Linked DNA regions of Homo sapiens: region 2 is linked to region 1. Evidence: promoter capture Hi-C in 16 types of primary human blood cells and fetal thymus (Javierre and others, 2016). All regions are on one chromosome and are shown on one strand. The core of a region is centred on a gene start or on the middle of the fragment in contact, and the rest is flanking DNA. Distances in the headings are between cores, read along the strand shown. Region 1 holds the start of FYN (FYN proto-oncogene, Src family tyrosine kinase). Region 2 overlaps TRAF3IP2 (TRAF3 interacting protein 2).

What was found. Contacts are between HindIII fragments. The CHiCAGO score rates a contact against its expected background, and 5 or more counts as called.
Region 2: a contact is called between a fragment that was not itself captured here and the fragment with the promoter of FYN in region 1, in 3 of 17 cell types (non-activated CD4 T cells, total CD8 T cells and total CD4 T cells). The highest score is 7.9, in non-activated CD4 T cells.

The regions. Positions count from the first base shown.
Region 1 is chr6:111,871,151-111,875,358 of GRCh38, reverse strand. FYN (FYN proto-oncogene, Src family tyrosine kinase) reads left to right here and starts at 1,907. Exons shown (of 14, transcript NM_002037.5): 1 at 1,907-2,391. LOC102724646 (a long non-coding RNA gene) reads right to left here and starts at 1,907. Exons shown (of 3, transcript NR_168402.1): 1 at 1,669-1,907. RefSeq lists silencers at 1,778-1,867, 1,988-2,237, 2,388-2,787 and an enhancer at 1,836-2,335. The HindIII fragment of the contact is 15,284 bases long and covers 1-4,208 here.
Region 2 is chr6:111,600,676-111,604,644 of GRCh38, reverse strand. All of the region lies in intron 1 of TRAF3IP2 (TRAF3 interacting protein 2), which reads left to right. It also overlaps TRAF3IP2-AS1. Among named protein-coding and RNA genes, the nearest start is that of TRAF3IP2, 3.2 kb to the left of the region's middle. The HindIII fragment of the contact is 3,499 bases long and covers 1-2,999 here.

The DNA.
Region 1 (4,208 bases), core at 658-3,157:
TGAAATATCTAATACATCTTTTACATTTACAGCACATCCTAATTTGCAGTAGCCAAATTTCCAATACTGAAGTACATTTCAAGTACTTAACAGTCATGTGGCTAGTGGCTACCTCCTCGGACAGCCCAATTCTAGAACTATGGTCCTCAAGGTGCTGTCTCCAGATTGGCTGTATCAACATCACCTGGGAACTTGCTAAATGTGCAAATTCTTGGGCACCATCCCAAACCCCCTAAATCAGAACCTCAGGTGGTTAAACACAGCAATTCATGTTTAAGCAAGCCCCTTCAGTTATTTCTGATACATGTCAAAGTTTGAGAACCATTGCTCTACCCAACTGCCTCTGCATCCCAATCCAAATAAACCCAGAGCAGCCATTGCGGACTAGCCCTGAGGACGAAGAGCCTCTGCTCTTGAGATAAGCAATTCTTGGCTAAATGAAGCTGGCTTTCTCTTGTATGGAAATATCCTAGTCCTAGCTATGGTTCCATTTCTTGGGATTATGGAATTTCCAGACACAATTTAAACATGGTTTAATTTGTCATTTTGTTTAAGGAAAAGGAAAAAAATCCAGTAACCTCTGTATACTGTCACCTTGAGTTAGTTACTTAACTTTTCTTTTCCTCAGTTTCCTCCTCCATAGGATGCAGATCATTTAATAAATGTTAGCAACTTTTCTTAAAAAGTAGTGTGTACAAAAAGAAAAAAGTCAGCAAAAGGGACAGATTTTTTTAAACTACAGTAAAAACAAGTAGTGGGCCGGAAAGGCAATATTATAGATTTTGAGCACAGAAGCAGAAGCTGATTCACTTATAATTTCTTAGAACATTAGATTTGCTGAGGGGGAAGGTAGGGTTCTTGCCAAAATCATTAAGGAGAGCGATTCTGAGTATGCCTTAAAGCAGAACTTTCAGTAAACAGGAATTACCTATAAAGAAAATCAGGAAGCCAAAGTGTTTCTTTTTATGAAGTTACATCCTGCCATAGAAAAGCTGGATAGGAAATAAAGACCGATGCACTCCCAACTGTATACTAAACCGGCAATTATTTCATCAAGGGAAATATGAGCAAAAGCTCAGATTCAGTGAAGGGGAAAAAAACATGAGAAGTTTGAATGTTATGAGAAACCAAAGACAACCAATGACTACAATTAAACGAGGTTTTTTGGGGGTGGGGCGGGGAATGTACGAACAAATCTCTGTCATTTCAGGTTCCTTAGTCGCCGCTTGGCCCCTCCCCCTATTTCAGTAATACTTCCTCCAGACTTTTGCTAGAAAAAAAATATAAATGAGTGTCCGCAGAAATAGGGGACTGATAAAATGATCCTAATCTCCTTCTCCTCCTCATTGTTATTTGTTGTGCGTTTCCACGTTTCAGGACAGGATTCTACTTTGCTCCGTACTCTTTTCAGTTTGATCAAAGAAAACGCTGCTATCACCGCCCAATTTTCCATTTCATCCTCTCACCCTCAAATGAAAAGACACCAGAAAGGCAAGATAGCCCTGTCTCGAGGCAGTTTCCCATGGTTTTGGGGGAATGGCAGGTGCCAATCTGCAGCAGCAGCTGCAACCTTCCGCAAAGCGGAAACTGCAGTTCACACTCTCCGCTCTTTCTCCCGCCCTACTCCGCCACCTCACAACTCCACACAATCCTTAAAAACACACAGACCTCCTCCTCCAACCTCGCATTTTCTTGCACACCCTGCACCGCACGCACCCTGGGATGCCCGCTGCCACAGTAACGCTCAACCCACTCGGCGGCCCCACCTACTGCCGTCCCGCCCACGCCCCAGGCGCCAATGGTTGCGGCTCGCAGCTCCCAAGGGGCTCTTTGATAGGGCAGCCGGGCCTGTCACTCTCGAGGCGCGCCCCGCCCCCTCCTCGCTCCCCTCCGGAGCTGGAGGGGCAGAGCATCAGCAAGAGTAGCAGCGAGCAGCCGCGCTGGTGGCGGCGGCGCGTCGTTGCAGTTGCGCCATCTGTCAGGAGCGGAGCCGGCGAGGAGGGGGCTGCCGCGGGCGAGGAGGAGGGGTCGCCGCGAGCCGAAGGCCTTCGAGACCCGCCCGCCGCCCGGCGGCGAGAGTAGAGGCGAGGTTGTTGTGCGAGCGGCGCGTCCTCTCCCGCCCGGGCGCGCCGCGCTTCTCCCAGCGCACCGAGGACCGCCCGGGCGCACACAAAGCCGCCGCCCGCGCCGCACCGCCCGGCGGCCGCCGCCCGCGCCAGGGAGGGATTCGGCCGCCGGGCCGGGGACACCCCGGCGCCGCCCCCTCGGTGCTCTCGGAAGGCCCACCGGCTCCCGGGCCCGCCGGGGACCCCCCGGAGCCGCCTCGGCCGCGCCGGAGGAGGGCGGGGAGAGGACCATGTGAGTGGGCTCCGGAGCCTCAGCGCCGCGCAGGTAAGCAGGCGGCGGGGATGCGTCGCGGGAGGCCTCGGGGATGCTGCGGAGAAGCCCGGCCGCCGGCGCCCCCGCGCACGCCGCCCCCGCCGCAGGGCCCGGTGCTGCGGTCCCTTGGCCGCCAGGGCGCTCCGCGGGGCTGCCGGGGAGTCGGTGCTTGGGGTCTTCCCGCGGTTGCACCGGAGGACACCCCTGCGGGGTGCGGCCCCGAGGCAGCGCGGGGATGGGGACCCCATTTCCTCGCCCGCAAGCGGGCGCCGGGTGAAAATGGGAATTGGCTTGGGGGCGAGGCTGGCCCAGACTCCGCCCCCGCCCTCCTTTTGGGGCCCCCCGCGGGGACTGGGGCTGTGTGTGTTGTTTTAATGTCAGGGATGATGTAATCACTTAATAATTGATGCCCCGTGCTGCTTCCCTCCCCACCCAACCCCTGCCCCACTCCTCCACCTCTCGGCCTCCTCCCTCGGCGGCGGTCGCCTTCTCCAACCCATCCTCCTGCCTATTTCTGGCACCTCCCTTGCACTTCCCCCATCCTCCCCTTCACTCTTCCTGTGCCACCACCCACCCACCCTTCCCCTTTCCCCTGTGCTGGAGCCTTCCCTCCTCTTCCTCTGTCCCCCACCCCTCTGCTCCCTCCAGCTCTTTTCTCCTTCCTTTCCGGCTCCCTCGCTGGATTTCCTCTCTACTTCCCTAGATCCATGGCTGTTTTTGTTTGGGCTCCTCCCCTCTGTTATCTCTGCGGCCACAGGCGGAGGGGACTGGGCCAGAAGGAGGCCACCGAGCTTGGGCCCAGCAGAGATGTGCTGGGACTCACTGGGAAGAGGGATAATAAAATCACCCTTCTTGCCCCTCCTTCCCCCAATAAATCACACAGACTCGCCGGGTGTGTGAGTGTGAGTGTGACACAAAGAGCCCTTTCAGTGCATAGAGAGGAGACACACAAAGTACCCTAGGATAGGCACGATGCTTCTTGTCTCTCTTCCCTGGGGCTTCCCTTTCTTTCCCATGAAGCAGTTGATCTCTCTGAGTCTTTCCTGCCACATTTACCAAAAAATAAAAGAACCCCCGGATGCCGGGTGGCAGGTGTCGGCATTTTGCTGTGTTCAGAGACCGGTAGTGTTGACTGGCAGCTGCAGTGTTTCTTAGATTTAAGGGAACAGTTATCCCAGCAGTCTTAAGAGTTGCTTTACTTTTAAGGTAGCCTCCCCATCCCCTCGTTCTTTCCCCTGTCCTTTTGGGAACAAGTACTAAGAGCTGGGGTAGAGTAGATTGGTGTGGGGGTCACAAGAATTTTGTTTCTGAATCAGAATTAAATTGTTATTTGATAAGAGGGAGGCAGCCTGAATGGCTTCTTCTCTCAAGTCTAAGAGGGCACTGTACTGAAGTCTTTTGAAATGAAATCCTGTCTGCCCAGTGATGTTGTTTTACCCTTTTATTGAAGTAAATACCTGGGGACGTGGATAAAACGGTCTAGAGTTAGCATTTGGAAGACCACTGCAGACTGCCTCTTGCCTGCTTCAAGGTAGTCTTGGGACGCCTACTTCCTTTCTCACCACCCAAGCAACTGCAATACTTTCCACCCTATGTACTGTCTTCTTCCCCAGTCCCTGCTCCATGGGTACCCTGTATTCAGATGAAGGGACTCACAGACTTTTGGAGGAAGTGGTTTAACTATCTGAGGCTTTGAGGCCACTTGGCTATGAACTGGGGCTGTAGAGAATCTTGACTGAAGTCTAAACCATTTGATGTTCCCTTTAAGGAAGAAATGTTAATGTAAATCTGGGGGCTTAATGTTCCGTTTTGTAAGCCAGTGACTATTA
Region 2 (3,969 bases), core at 1-2,500, 270 kb after region 1:
AGCAGCAGTCAGGGCGAAAGGCTGGGAGACACGTGTCTCTGCGGGAGGGCTGCCTGGAATTGAGGCCTTATTACTGGCTCTAGCCAAATAGGAGAAAACAGGGAGTTTCTCGAATTAGTTCATGTCCCATTTGGGTTACCCAGGAAGGATAGTCTGTGCTATTGTCCACAGAGTCAAGGCAGGCCAGAGAACTGGCAGACAAGCCCAGCTCCAGAAGCCAGAGTTACTGCTGTAGCTGGACCTGGAAACCACTCCTCAGCTGGACCAGTCACTGTGTGTGGGGCCTTTAATGGGAGGGGAAGGGAAACTATGAAACACATCCTAATACCATGTAAGGGTGATGACTGTGATTAGAGACATTATTAGATGGCGGATACACAGAATCCTTAACTTTTTCCAGACCGTGACTTAAAAAAAAATTGTCATTGTTTCTTTTTGGCAATTACTTGCCATCAATACAGTTCAAACAGGCCCTAGCTGACTGGGATGGGCTGGTGCAGGACTTTTGGTTTCTGTGGGATGTCCTGGTGTAGTCCGTGTCATGTTTTTAGGCATTTCTCTCTATTCCCCTGGGATGAAAGGACAGGAATTTCAAGATATTTCACCTGCAATGAGTTCCTGATTTTATTTTCAAACAACGATGCACCATTATCTGAAAGCAGGCTAACTGTTGTGCACTTGCCAGCCTCGCTCTAATCCTTAAAGGCCACACACCACAGTCATTCTTAATCTGCTGCTGCAGCTACCAGTCACTCCATGATGGAGCATCAAAAGATGGATAATGTAGTTACTCTGCTCTGTTCCTTGCATGGGGTGGGTTAAACAGAAGTGAGGTCTGAGTAATGTACCAACATGTCGGATAGAAAGGTTCTTAACTCAGGGTTACTCATTTTTGGAAGGTGTAGAGACAGGAAATGTTAAAGCCTGCTTCTCCTGGGATTAAGGAGTTAGTGACTTTCAAATGCTCTGAAAAGAAAAAGAAGAGGAGAAGACAGTCATATCTGCAGGCATTCTTCAACAGGCATTCAGAAAGATTATGGTGGGGTAGTTTGTCTAAATGAAATCTTTGTTTTACACGTTGTAGAATGGAAATCTCAGGAATATCCTGAATTCAAATCATTTTTCTTCTGCAGGCAATTTTAAATTAGCTTCTAAAAACATATATGAATTGCAGGCAACTGCTGCAGAAAAAAAAGAGTGAACACAGATGAGGCATATTCAACTTTAAATTCCTTTCAGATCCAATGAAATGACCCCTAATGTTTGATCACATTTCCTTATCAAAACAATCCTGCAGTCTGAAGGATTTTTCCATGAGAAAGTGTCTGAGGACTGGAATCAAGAAGCTGCCCCCCGGGCCTCTCCTGTTTCTTCCCAATGCGTTGTCACCAAGATATTTTTAGTTCATGAAACTCAGGCTGTCCTTTCTCCCACTTATGGTCTTTGCCTCCCGTGCCCAGCAGGCCTCCTAGAAGCACACATGTGCTTGGCTGTGACTACTCAGCTCACTCTGTAGCTGTGTGTGCACGCCTTGTGTGTGTGTGTGTGTGTGTGTGTGTGCACACCTTGTGTGTGCACAGACCTTCCCGGATACCAGGAGTTGTAGACTGGCTGAAGAAGGGTGGGCTTCCATCCATGGGGTGATCCTTAGGTCTGTGCTGGTTTGGCTTGGTTCCCTGATAAGGCAGCTGAACTCAAGCCCTTTAGGAGGGCCAGGACTGACCGGAGCTCCCAGCCTGTGCCCCTCTCCTCGCACCCCACAGGCCGCACCCCACAGACTGAGGCTGCCTGGGGTCTTGGCAGCTCCCTCAGCAATGAGGGATACTTGCTCTCCGCTGCCTCATTGTTTCCCTGCAGTCAGGATGCCAGTGTTTTTTCCCTTTCCCCTTCCCAGAGTCAACAGGTCTCCCTCCCCGCTCTGAACTCTCTTCCTACTCTGAGCTGTCTGTCCAAACTCTTCCTGGCCTCCCAGCTTACCCTATGACACTCTTACCTTTCACCTATATTCATTCTTTCCCTTCTCTTCCAACTGCCCCTTCTCATACCCAGCACTACATACAAATTACAAGTAAATAAGTGTCTCTCCTACACCAATAAAAGGCAAATACAAAAAAATCCTTCAGCGTTTCCCCACTTTCCTTACTTCTCTTCCGTTCTCCTTCCTTCCTTTCTCTCCCTTCCTCTTCCTCTCTTGGTTTTTCCTTTCTACCCCTTCCTCTCCTTCACTCCGTGGCTGTGGCTGAATTAGGGATCACACATGTGCTTAGAGAAACCATCTTATCTGAAGAAACAAAAAAACAAAAACCAAAACAATGACAACGACAGAAAAAAAAAAAAAACATGGGCTGGTTTGAGGTTGTTCTCTAAATGTTTATTATAACTTCTAATGTGATGGAGTCAGTGTGTTCCCATTAGTCCTTCTCCTCCTCATTTAGTAGCTCAGAGGAGTCCCAGAGCAAACTTCCTCAAATCAGGTCGGTTCATACTGCACTGCCTTCAGCCTGATGTGAGTCTTACTGTGCTGGGTTTATGTCCAAGGGCCAGTAAATATTCCCTTCCTTCCAGGGCTCACCACTGTTTCAAATCCTCTGGCAAGCCCAGTGGAAGAACTTCTCTGTATGGGAAATTCAGCAAGTAAACTTGGAAGTATTTGTTCATTGGAGTTTGAATCTGAGCCAAACAGTTCACTCAAAACCAACCTTCCACTCAGCAAACCAGTGTTATGAAAGTTTGCATGCATTTGGGCAGGAAACAAAGGACATTAATGAGTTTAAAGATTTTTTTTTAAATCCATGACTTTTGGACATTTATTAAAAAGATTACTCTCTGGGGAATGAAGTAAGGCCTTGGGAATCTTGTAATTGAAAGTTTCTGATCCGAAGTAGATCTCAGGATCCTCCCAGCTGTAAATTTATAGATTTCTTTTTAATGTCCACCTGAAATATTCATGCTGTGTGTCTCTAGGACGCTTCAAACCTATTCCTGACTCAAAGAAAGCTTAAGAAAAAATCCAAGCAGTTGTGATCACCAAGGCCTGATTATGGAGGAGCTGTTAATATGGTTTATTAATTACTCAGGCTGCTCACTCCTGTCCTTCCTCTGTTCCTTGCTGTGCTATTTGTCTTCTTCTGGGGACATAACACCTTCATTAAATCCCATCCGTCCTTGCCTTAGAGTTGTCCCCTGGAAGATAGCTCCCCTCTAGATGCATCACCATTTATCATCACCCTTTGTTGGTGCTCTGTCAACCAGTTTTCAATTTATTTTGAATTCAGTTAATGATTAAAATTTAATGAGATCCAGTCAAATGCTTTTCTCAAATCAAGATGCCTCTGCAGCCTCATCTGTATCCTCTTGTGATGGCGTGAAGGAAAGCCATGGCAGATTTCCAGCCTGGTGATGCTGTACAGAACACAGGTGGCCTGCTTCCATGCCTCCTCAGCTTCAAGGTGAATGGCTCTGAAGCATATTTATTACAGAATCTCCTAGGGGTTATGTGGCTTCCCCATCCCCTTTCTTCCCTCCCAATAGCTGAACCAGTCAGTGCTCCCAACCGAGATGCAAGCGGTTAAGTGCACAGGATCTGGTGCCAAACCGCTTATATTTGAATCACAGCTCTGCTACTTAATAGCCATGTGACCTCGGAAAAGTTACTTACCTTCTCTATGCCTTGCTTTTCCTGTCTGTAAAATGAGTCTGACAATAGTACTTAGGAAATTAGAGTGGGTGTGAGGATTAAGTAAGTTAATATATCTATCACACTTGGAACAGCATTTCCCACGTAGTCACCATTCAATAAATATTAACAATGATTGCTAACAAAGAGTAAAGTTCCTTAAGTATGTCAGTTTCATTAGGTTTGTATTTTGGCTTATCAGTGTACAATCTATATCAACAGTAAACTACAACCCTAGAGCCAATGGTTACCATGACCTGTTTTTAGCACCAGCCTGTTGCTCAGAATGGTTT